4 separate regions of the Homo sapiens genome follow, and regions 1, 2 and 3 are each linked to region 4. The links are contacts of gene promoters, found by promoter capture Hi-C in blood cells and fetal thymus (Javierre and others, 2016). All regions are on one chromosome and are shown on one strand. Each heading gives the region's core, a stretch centred on a gene start or on the middle of the fragment in contact. The rest is flanking DNA. Distances are from core to core; before and after follow the strand shown.

Evidence for each region. Contacts are between HindIII fragments. The CHiCAGO score rates a contact against its expected background, and 5 or more counts as called.
Region 1: a contact is called between a fragment that was not itself captured here and the fragment with the promoter of TGM2 in region 4, in 7 of 17 cell types (monocytes, M0 macrophages, M1 macrophages and 4 more). The highest score is 12.3, in monocytes.
Region 2: a fragment that was not itself captured here is called in contact with the fragment with the promoter of TGM2 in region 4 in 6 of 17 cell types (M1 macrophages, neutrophils, M0 macrophages and 3 more); the score reaches 8.8 in M1 macrophages.
Region 3: a contact is called between a fragment that was not itself captured here and the fragment with the promoter of TGM2 in region 4, in 1 of 17 cell types (monocytes). The highest score is 6.3, in monocytes.

The regions. Positions count from the first base shown.
Region 1 is chr20:38,078,996-38,081,721 of GRCh38, forward strand. All of the region lies in intron 6 of RPRD1B (regulation of nuclear pre-mRNA domain containing 1B), which reads left to right. Among named protein-coding and RNA genes, the nearest start is that of RPRD1B, 47 kb to the left of the region's middle. The HindIII fragment of the contact is 2,285 bases long and covers 135-2,419 here.
Region 2 is chr20:38,037,892-38,040,591 of GRCh38, forward strand. It overlaps RPRD1B (regulation of nuclear pre-mRNA domain containing 1B), which reads left to right. Exons shown (of 7, transcript NM_021215.4): 2 at 2,544-2,673. It overlaps LOC124904898 (a long non-coding RNA gene), which reads left to right. Exons shown (of 2, transcript XR_007067579.1): 2 at 1-216. Among named protein-coding and RNA genes, the nearest start is that of RPRD1B, 5.5 kb to the left of the region's middle. The HindIII fragment of the contact is 2,555 bases long and covers 4-2,558 here.
Region 3 is chr20:38,285,175-38,287,874 of GRCh38, forward strand. The region is part of intron 1 of LOC149684 (a long non-coding RNA gene); the gene reads left to right. Among named protein-coding and RNA genes, the nearest start is that of BPI, 18 kb to the right of the region's middle. RefSeq lists an enhancer at 1,445-1,946. The HindIII fragment of the contact is 980 bases long and covers 937-1,916 here.
Region 4 is chr20:38,163,820-38,166,519 of GRCh38, forward strand. TGM2 (transglutaminase 2) reads right to left here and starts at 1,451. Exons shown (of 13, transcript NM_004613.4): 1 at 1,370-1,451. The coding sequence starts at 1,379. RefSeq lists a silencer at 1,304-1,743. The HindIII fragment of the contact is 3,789 bases long and covers 1-2,700 here.

The sequences.
Region 1 (2,726 bases), core at 27-2,526, 85 kb before region 4:
TTCTTGACATATTATAAATCAGGAAGATTAAGTATTGCTCATAAAATAATAGAATATGGGAGGGGTGAGTGTTCTTTCTCCATCAGATCTGTCGATTCAAATGGAACAGTTTAGCAAGTGCCTGTTCTCACCCAAGCTTCCCCCGTGCCATAGGCGTTGTTTTCATTCCCATCTCATACATAGGAGCCCAGTGAGTTTGTCACATGTTATATCCTAGGCACATGGAAGTGTAGGATAGGAACTTGGATTTTCTTTTTTTTTTTTTCTTTCCAACTTTTATTTATTTTATTCAGGGGGTTCAGGTTTGTTAACATGGGTACATTGTGTGTCACAGGTATTTGGCGTACAGATAATTTTGTCATCCAGGTAATTGGCATTGTACCTGATAGGTAGTTTTTCAGTTCTCACCCTCCTCCCATCCTCCACCCTCAAGTAGTCCCGGGTGTCTTATTTTTCCCTTCTTTGAGTTCATGTGTTCTCAATGTTTAGCTCCCAACTTATAAGTGAGAACATGCGGTATTTGGTTTGCCTCATCCATGTTGCTGCAGAGGACGTGATCTCATTCTTTTTTATGGCTGCATAGTATTCCATGGTATATATGTACTCATTTTCTTTATCCAGTCTACTGTGGATGGGCATCTAGGTTGATTCCATGTCTTTGCTATTGTGAATAGTGCTGTGATGAACTTAGGCATGCATGTGTCTTTATGGTAGAATAATTTATATTCCTTTGGTTATATACCCAGTATTGGGATTGCTGGGTTGAATGGTTGTTCTGTTTTAAGTTCTTTGAGAAATCTCCAGACTGCTTTCCACAGTAGCTGAACTAATTTACATTCTCACTAGCCCTTTATAAGTGTTCCTTTTTCCCCACAACCTCCCCAGCATCTGTTATTTCTTGACTCTTTAATAGCCATTCTGATTGGTATGAGATGGTATCTCATTGTGGTTTTGATTTGCATTTCTCTAATGATTAGTGATACTGAGCTTTTTAAATATGCTTGTTGGCTGCATGTATGTCTTCTTTTGAAAAGTGTCAGTTTGTGTCCTTTACCTATTTTTAATGGGGTTTTTTGTTACTTGCTTATTGACTTAAGTTCCTCATAGATTGTAGATATTAGGCCTTTGATGGTGGCATAGTTTGCAAATATTTTCTCCCATTCTGTAAGTTGTCTTTTTGCTCTGTTGATAGTTTCTTTTGCTGTGTAGAAGCTCTTTAGTTTAATTAGATTTTACTTTTCAGTTTGTTTTTGTTGCAGTTACTTTTGGAGTCTTTGCCAGGGCCGGTGTCCGGCATGGTATTTCCTAGGTTTTCTCCTAGGGTCTTTGTAGTTGGAGGTTTTACATTAAGTCTTGATCCACTTTGAGTTGGTTTTTATATATGGTAAAAGGAATGGGTCCAGTTTTAATCTTCTGCATATGGATAGCCAGCTATCCCAGCACCATTTATTGAATAGAGAATACTTTCCCCATTGCTTGTTATCATCAGCTTTGTCAAAGATCAGATTCTTGTAGGTGTACAGCTTTATTTATTTATTTATTTTTTTGAGTCTTGAGTCTCTCTTTGTCTCCCAGGCTGGAGTGCAGTGGCACGATCTCGGCTTGCTGCAACCTCCGCCTCCCAGATTTGAGCAGTTCTCCTGCCTCAGCCTTCCGGGTAGCTGGGATTATAGGCATGCGTCACCACGCCTGGCTTATTTTGTATTTTTAGTAGAGATAGGGTTTCCCCATGTTGGCCAGCCTGGTCTCGAACTCCTTACCTCAGGTGCTCCACCTGCCTCAGCCTCCCAAAGTGCTGGGATTATAGGCATGAGCCACCGTGCCCAGCCAGTGTACAGCTTTATTTCTGAGTTCTCTACCCTGTTCCATTGGTCTTTGTATCTGTTTTTGTACCATTTCCATGCTGTTTTAGTTACTGTAGCCTTATAGTATAGTTTGAAGTTGGGTAATGTGATGCCCTGGGCTTTGTTCTTTTTGCTTAGGATTGCTTTGGCTATTTGGGCTTTTTATTGGCTCAGAATCAATTTTAGAATATTGTTTTCTCTTTGTTTTGTTTTTGTTAGTAGATGCTGTGCATGCAAAAATAGTTTTTCCTAATTCTGTGAAGAATGTCTTTGGTAGTTTGATAGGAATAGCATTGAATCTGTACATTGCTTTGGGTAGTATGGCCATTTCAACAATATTGATTTTTCCTATCCATGAGCATAGAAGTTTTTCCATTTGTTTATGTTGTCTCTGACTTCTTTGAGCAGTGTTTTGTAATTCTTGTTGTCGAGATTTTTCACCTCCCTGATTAGCTGTATTTTATTCTTTTTGTGGCTTTTGTGAATGAAATTGTGTTCTTGATTGGGCTGTCAGCTTGGACATTATTGGTCTATAGAAATGCTACTGATTTTTGTATATTGATTTTGTGTCCTGAAGCTTTGCTGAAGTTATCAGAACTAGGAGCCTTTGGGTAGACATTATGGGGTTTTCTAGCTATGGAATCATATAGCCTGCAACGAGAGATAGTTTGACTTCCTCTCTTCCTATTTGGATGCCTTTTATTTCTTTCTCTTGCTTGATTGCTCTGGCTAGGACTTCCAGTACTGTGTTGAACGGGGGTGGCAAGAGTGGGCATCCTTGTCTTATTCTGGCTCTCAAGGGAAATGCTTCCAGCTTTTGCCTGTTGAGTATGATGTTTGCTGTGGGTTTGTCATAGATGGCTCTTATTATTTTGAGGTATG
Region 2 (2,700 bases), core at 31-2,530, 130 kb before region 4:
TAAAGCTTCACTTAATGAAATTTGCTTTGTTGAAGTTCTGTTTTGCTTTCGAATCTGCTAACTTGCATGGGATTATAGGTGTAGTAGTTTCACTTACATCAACTTTGCAGAGCAAGGTTTGCTTTAACAAAAAAGCACGTTTTGCCATAATCATACCTTTGTAGCAACAGTAGATATTGTAACTACTGACACTTTTGTTCTGCTTTTGAATAATAATTAGAAAGTTGAAGAAAGCTCCAGGTTCCTAGTATTCTTATCAGTTGGCCATCTAAACTAGGTTATTACCAGAAGGTTAAGACAATTCAGGGTATCCATATTTAATTTTATGAGCATTTAAGACATCAGTTTCATCAGTTTAAACTGTAATGTGCTATTAAAATCATGTTTTTAACTTGGGTTACTCTCCTGTAGCTACATTTTTTTTTTTTTTTTTGAGACGGAGTCTCTTACTCTGTCACCCAGGTGGGAGTGCAGTTGGCGCGATCTCGGCTCACTGCAACCTCCGCCTCCCAGGTTCAAGTGATTCGCCTGCCTCAGCCTCCCAAGTAGCTGGGTTTACAGGCGCCTGGCACCACGCCCGGCTGATTTTTTTTGTTTTGTTTTTTTTTTTTTTTTTTTTTTTTGAGACAGAGTCTTGCTCTGTCACCCAGACTGGAGTGCAGTGGTGTGATCTCGGCTCACTGCAAGCTCCGCCTCCTGGGCTCACCCCATTGTCCTGCCTCAGCCTCCTGAGTAGCTGGGACTACAGGCGCCCGCCACCACGCCTGGCTAATTTTTTGTATTTTTAGTAGAGACAAGGTTTCACCATGTTAGCCAGGATGGCCTTGATCTCGTGACCTCAGGTGATCCACCTGCCTTGGCCTCCCGGAGTGCTGGGATTACAGGCGTGAGCCACTGTGCCCAGCCTCCTGTAGCTACATTTTAAAATGTCAGATCTTATGCCTGCTATGTCAGACATATCAATGCTTTGTACATTTCAAAAGAAACAACTGGTTTCAGAGAGAAATAGAGTTACTCAGGTGTGTTAAGGTTGATAAAGAGCTTGTGTTTTTCAGGTACTTTAGCATTGGAGAAAACTTTGTGTTTTGAAACATCTAATTATGTTCTTATTTATTTCTTTTAAAAGAAAATTGGAACCAAAAATTGTAGGGATGTAACTTTATAGTTGAGAAATTATGTGCATAGAAGCCAGGGAATTCAGTAATGTTCCCCAAAGCAACTGTAACTCAGACATATTGCACGAGGTTTTTATGGTTTAATATATGATACCATATAGAGTAATAGGGAATAACCACATTTCATATAAATAAGAGAGAATTATGGTTTTTGTGAAAGCCCTAATTTTGCATATCTAGATTTCACACGTGTGTAAATTTTCAATAAGAGTGTAGTGTTAATGTATACTTGTATTTGAGCTAATATCTATTGGTGCACCTAGAGATTCTTCTATATTATTGATTATGGTTATTGGAGTATCAGAGAAATTCTCAGTTTAGGAGCAAAATTACAAGAAACCTTTTTTTTTTTTTTGAGACGGAGTTTTGCTCTTGTTGCCCAGGCTGGAGTGCAACAGCATGATCTAGGCTCACCACAACCTCTACCTCCCGGATTCAAGCGATTCTCCCACCTCAGCCTCCTGAGTAACTGGGATTACAGGCATGTGCCACCACGCCAGGCAAATTTTGTATTTTTAGTAGAGACGGGGTTTCTCCACGTTGGTCAGGCTGGTCTCAAACTCCCGACCTCAGGTGATCCGTCCATCTCGGCCTCCAAAAGTGCTGGGATGACAGGCATGAGCCACCACGCTCGGCGAAACCATTTTAAAATTGAAACCTAACTCAGTCTTTTTTTTTTTTTTTTGAGACAGAGTCTTGCTCTATTGCCCAAGCTGGAGTACAGTAGTGCAATCTCGGCTCACTGCAACCTCCACCTCCTGGGTTCAAGCGATTCTCCTGCCTCAGCCTCCTGAGTAGCTGGGACTACAGGTGCCCACCATCACACCCGGCTAATTTTTGTATCTTTAGTAGAGGTAGGGTTTCACCATGTTGGCCAGGCTGGTCTCAAACTCCTGACCTCAAATGATCCACCCACCTCGTCCTCCCAGAGTGCTGAGATTACAGGCATGAGCCACTGCGTCCGGCCAACTCAGTCTTTCATTCTGAAATATTTGATAATTAAAAGTGAGTTAGAAGTTGCTCATTTTTGCAGTAGAATAAATAAAAGCCCTAGTTTCAACATTAACACTGACTGCTTATCCTTTAGGAATTCTCTTTGGATTATCTTAATTTTTACTATCAATTAATTACCCTGGTTTAAACAACACAGCAATGAAGATGGCCCATTCTTTTTCTTTTTCTTTTTTTTTTTTCCGAAATGGTATTCCCAAACCTATTCCTTAGGTGGTCTTTTTAAACATATCTACTTGACCCCCCAGGTAGATAATACTTGTCTTAATGTTTTTTTAGGAGCAGCCCAGGGCAAAAGAATTGTGAATTGAGAATTTCTTTGGTGTAAGTTAAATTCTTTTCTTTTCTTTTTTTCAGCCAAATCAAATAGAAAGCTTACTTTTCTGTATTTAGCGAATGATGTCATCCAAAACAGTAAAAGGAAAGGACCTGAATTCACTAGAGAATTTGAATCTGTCCTTGTGGATGCTTTTTCTCATGTTGCCAGGTATGTTGTCTGTTTTTTGGATTTGTT
Region 3 (2,700 bases), core at 177-2,676, 120 kb after region 4:
GACCTCTCCACAGGGCTGCCTGAGTGTCCTCACAGCATGGTCTCCCCCAGATCGAGTGATCCCAGAGGGAGCACCATGGGCCACCGTGTCTCATGACCTAACCTCAGAAGTCACACACTATTTCCACAATGTCCTAGCACGGTCAGCCCTATCCAGTGTGGGAGGGGATATTCATGAAGGCAGGGATTCCTGGGGACCATCTGAGGCTGGCATCCCCAAGACAAAGAAAGTGTAAACATGAAGTTCTCAGCAGTATGTTTCATTCACAAAGATTTGTGGAAGCTTTTTAAAGGCCCCCCAACTACATAACACACGATAGCTGATATGGTTTGGATCTCTGTTCCCACCAAATCTCATGTAGAATTGTAATCCCCAGGGTTGGAGGTGGGGCCTGGTGGGAGGTGATCGGATCATGGGGGCAGAGTTTCCATGAATGATTATCACCATCCCCCCTTGGTACTGTATAATGAGTGAGTTCTCACAAGATCTGGTTAAGTGTGTGGCACCTCCCTGCTCTTTCTCTTCCTCCTGCTCCAGCCATGTGAAGTGCTGGCTTCCCCTTCGCCTTCCACCATGATTGTAAGTTTCCTGAGGCCTCCCCAGGAGCCAAGCAGATGCCAGCATCCTGCTTCCTGTCCACCCTGTGGAATCGTGAGCCAAATATCTCTTCTTTATAAATTATGCAGTCTCAAGTATTCCTTTATAGCAGTGCAAGAATGGACTAATACAAAATCTTGTGCTTATACTGTCCTAGAACATCTCTGGAAGGATGTACTGTTCACTAACTTTTTGAATCTCACATTTTTCTATTCCTCTAATAAATATATGTTTTAAAAATAATTATCGGATAATCAAAAGGAGTGTCCACTGAGTTTGGAAATACGTTTTTTCATATATCCAACCCACAGATATTTGCGAAGCTGCTACTGTGCATCAAGCTTTGTTCTTGGCACTGGAAATGGTGAAGGGAACAGAGCTTCGCCACCCTCATGGGCTGGGTTCTTTTCCTAGGGCTGCCATAACAAAATGCTACAGATGGAGTCACATAAGCAAGAGAAATGTATTGTCTCACCATTCTGGGGGCTAGAAGTTTGAAATCAAGGTGTCAACGGGGTCGGTTATGTTGAGGGCTGTGAGGGGAGGCTCTGTTGCAGGCTGGCTTCTTAACTTGCGGGCGGCCGTCTTCATGTTCACGTGGCATCTTTGCCATATGTACGAGTGCCCACATTTCCCCTTTTTATAAGGACACCAGGCTATTGGATTAGGGCCTACCCTAATGACCTCATTTTAATGTGGGTTCCTTTGTAAAGACTATTTATTCAAATAAGGTCACATTCTGTGATATTGTGGGGGTTGGGAATTCAACATAGGAATTTTCAGAGGAGGGACATAATTTAACTCGTAACATTGGCCTTACGTCGAGTGAGGGAGATGATAAGCAAAGGGGTCTATAGGGCCTCAGGAGCCCAGGGAGCTGGAGAGGGAGAAAGCAGCCCCGGGGGAGGTCCACAATGGGCAAAGGCAGGGTTGGCCTGTGGGTAGAAAGTGGGTGGGAGCAGAAGAAGTGGATGGAGGGTGGAGAGTCACCAGGAGACACGTGCAGCTTTGAGGAGCTTTGGCTGAGCAGGGAGTCCAGAGTGGTGGCTGGAGGGAAACCTGGGATCTAGAGGGAGTCTTATCTGATTTTATGATGAAAAATCTTGTAAGCTGAAAAGACAAAAAAAAATGCAGAAAAGGAGGGCAAGGCCGCAGGTTGAGGGTTGGGCCTCTTCTGGGTGCGGAGAGGAAGAGAGGGAGGGAGGAGAGGCAGGTGTGTGTGCATGGTGTGGGGTAGGAGATCTGCTGAGTAAGGAGGTGCCAGGCTGCAAGGGCCCTGAGGAGGGAGAAAGCTCAGGGTTTGGCTGAGGGACACAGGAAGCTTGCAGGGAGTGGGGGCTCCCAAGCCCTCTCTCAGCCCTCAGACCTCCCTCCCAATCCCCGACCCACCCCGGCAGCTTCTATCCTTCCGTTTCCTTCCCATCTCTCCCAGGGTCCCTCCTACGGCCCGTGGATCTGTCCCTCCCCACAGCTGTCCTGCTGATCAATGGATGCTCTGTTCTCTCTGGCTCCCCTCCACGTGTCCCCGCCTAGCAGGGGCCATGGCCTCACCCCGGGGGTGCACAGGCCTGTGGTCAAAGCAATCTCCATCTGGCCACAGGGAAGTTCCGCCTCCACAACTATGACAATATTTGAAATTCTTCAGAAGTTGCATTTTATGTTATCACACCCATTGGGTCCTGCCCACCTTTTGAAAACCCTCCAGGGACCCCCGACTGCTCAGAGAACAAAACCCAAACACTTTAAAGTGACCTCCAAGGCTCTGCATGCTTCAGCTTCTGCATTGCTTTGTAGCAGCGTTTTATCTTGAAATAATTTTAGCTTTACAGAAGAGTTGCAAAGACAGTATGAAAAATTCCAGTATTCCTTTTCTCCGGTTCCCCTCATGTTAACATCTTACATCACCATAGGACATTTATCAAAACTAAGACATTAACATTGGTACAATGATGTGTTACTTTTGTAGGAAATGATAGTAATTATGGATTTTTTTCATTTTTATTGTGGAACATGCCATAGAGACAAAGGCATATATGTACAGTCTGAAGAATAACAATAAATACCCTTGAACTCACCAATCCATTTAAGAAATAGAATACTGCT
Region 4 (2,700 bases), core at 201-2,700:
GAAAGAGGCCATTGTTGTTCCCATGGAAGACCCTGGAGATACGGCCAGTCCCTGGGCTGTGGGAGCTGGGGCATTTTCTCCATCTGTTGTCCGAAGAAGGGTTTCCAGAAATCACGCCCAGCTCCAAAGATGCAGGTCTAGAATTGTAGGATTTATAGGATTTCTGCACTTAGAAAGGGCCTAGGCCTTCTAGGCCAGTGAGACCTCTGTCAGAAGTGGCCACTGTGACATGGGGCTGGAGGCTCATCATAACTGGCATCTCCAGGATCTCCCAGCCCCACTGAGCCCTGCTTTTGAGCATGGGGGTGAGAAGATGCATTGAGGACAAGCGGCCACCGAGGCGACACATCACAGTGTGTTGGGAGCTGGGCCCGAGGGAGGCAGGTGGCTGAGATCACACAGCAGGGTCAGGTGGGTCCACAGTTCCTGCCACCCATTCCTGCTCCACCTGCCCCATGTCCCTGTCCCACACCCCTTCCTGGGGGTTGCAATGGGTGCAGAAGCCATCCCCAGATGAACTTGACCCAAGAGCCAGCTGGGATTCTGGGTCCAGCAGTGACATCCTCCATTGTAGAAATCCCTCCAGCTGGGACCTACGAGAGTGCTGCTTGTGTGTGGGGAGGGAGTCAGGGGCACCAGTATGAAATTAGTTAAGCCTCTGTTCCACTCCTCTCGTTCCTCACAGATGCACCAAAGGCTGGAGCAGAGGACCAGGGCACGGTCAGGGTGACAGATGGGTGGGGGTCTTGGGGGAAAACAAATCTCATAAACCTTGTCCTATAAAATAAGGACACTGTTGTCCTTATTTTATAGGTGAGACTCAACAATTGGCCAAGGTCTAGGGTTGCAGAACGTGAGGGCGGGAAGAACAAGCCTGATTTCCGAAGGCTCCTGGATAGGATGCCGAAAGCTCCTCTCTGGCCGCTGGAGCCAAGGACTCAGCCAGGCTTGGCTTGCACACCACCGGCGTGGCATGCACACCACCTGGTCCTGGCTGGCAAGAACCACCCAAACCTAAGTGTTCTGAGGCCAGGCCAGCACCCCCTGCACAGCTCCAGGCACACATCAGAGAGCCAGCCCCCACTGACTGACTGAGGACACGTGCCAGTGGTCCGCCAGGACAGTACTTTACAGTTTACAACACCCCGTCGCGTTCCATTGCCTCACCTGATCCAGGGAGGCAAGGGTTAATGGTTATGCAGTGTGGATGGGGAAACTGAGGCTCCAAGCAGCATTGAGACGCCTCCTCACCCAGCCCGGTCTGCCTGTTGCTCTCCAAATCAGGACTTAGGGATTCAGCTCCCACCGGGTCCTGACCCCCAATGCCCCGGGGCCCCTGAGTGGCGGCTGCGGTGACTCTGATACTCACCCTCGGCCATGGTCGGGCGGGGGCGGTGGCTCCTTCCACTGGCGGCGAGACCCTCCAAGTGCGACCACTGGCGGCTGGCACTGCCGAGGCGGAGAGCGGCGCTAACTTATAGCCCGCTTTGGGGCGGGCCGGGGGCGGGGCCCCGCGGGAAGGCGGCGACCTGGGAGGCCACCCATTGCCCAGTCCCGGGCCCACGCCGCCAGCGCTGGGGCTCACCCAGGGGACCGGAGCCCGAGGGAGGGACGGCGGCCGGACGAGGGCGCCCCCTGGGGGAGCGGACAGGGACACACAACTAGCCCAGGATACAGACACACCTGGACCCACAGACTCAGACCTTGGAGAACAGACACCTGGACACACACACTCAGATACAGACACACGCAGCACCCTCATAGAAACACACAACGGAACCGGGGTGCACCTGGACACACAGATGTGGACTCTTAGGTCAGATCTGGGATCAAGAACACCTCCCCACCCCCAACACACACACACACACACACACACACACACGCACACACTCACACACATACTCAGATATACATACACAGAGAGCAGACGCAGACACACCAAGACAGGGCTGTGGAGATACACACACAAACACAGATACACTCCCACAGATACACCAAACACGGCTGGCCACGCAGACACAGTGACATGGATACAAATTCAGATTCGAATGGCAGACACACACCAGGACATAGATACAGCCTGACACAGCCAGGTAGCCTTGACCGCGAGCCACACACAGCTGTGGACACAGATGAGCAGGTGTCCAGAGGCACCTGGCACACACACAGACCTCCTAGACACCAATGCCACTGTCAGATGTGGACGCAAAATCAGAGAGGGCACCCACAGACACACAAAGATGTGGCTACTCAGAGGTAGACACACATGCAGGCATGGACTCAGGTACAGACATGCAGACACACCTGCAAAAACAGACACACCCATGTCCCTTCCTGTAGCAAAACCCAGATAATCCTCCGATCTCACCCATCCTTGTATCTGTCTAATCAGCCATCCATCTAATCAGCCATCCATCTACCCATCCATCCACTCACCCATGCATCACCTACCCCCCCACCTATCCATCCACTCATCCCTTCATCCATCCCTCCCTCGGCCTTCTCTTCCCTCCCTCCCTCAATCCATCCATCCACTGAGCTTTCTTGAGGCCCCACTGTGTGCCAGAAAGGAGCAAGACTAACTTTCCAGGGACTCAGCCTAGGACTTCTCGAACCTGGCAACCAGGGGTCCTATCTCTCATCCTGGTATCTCTGGTCTCTTGGTCTCCTGTGCTTCCGGATCCACTGTGAGCCCTGAGC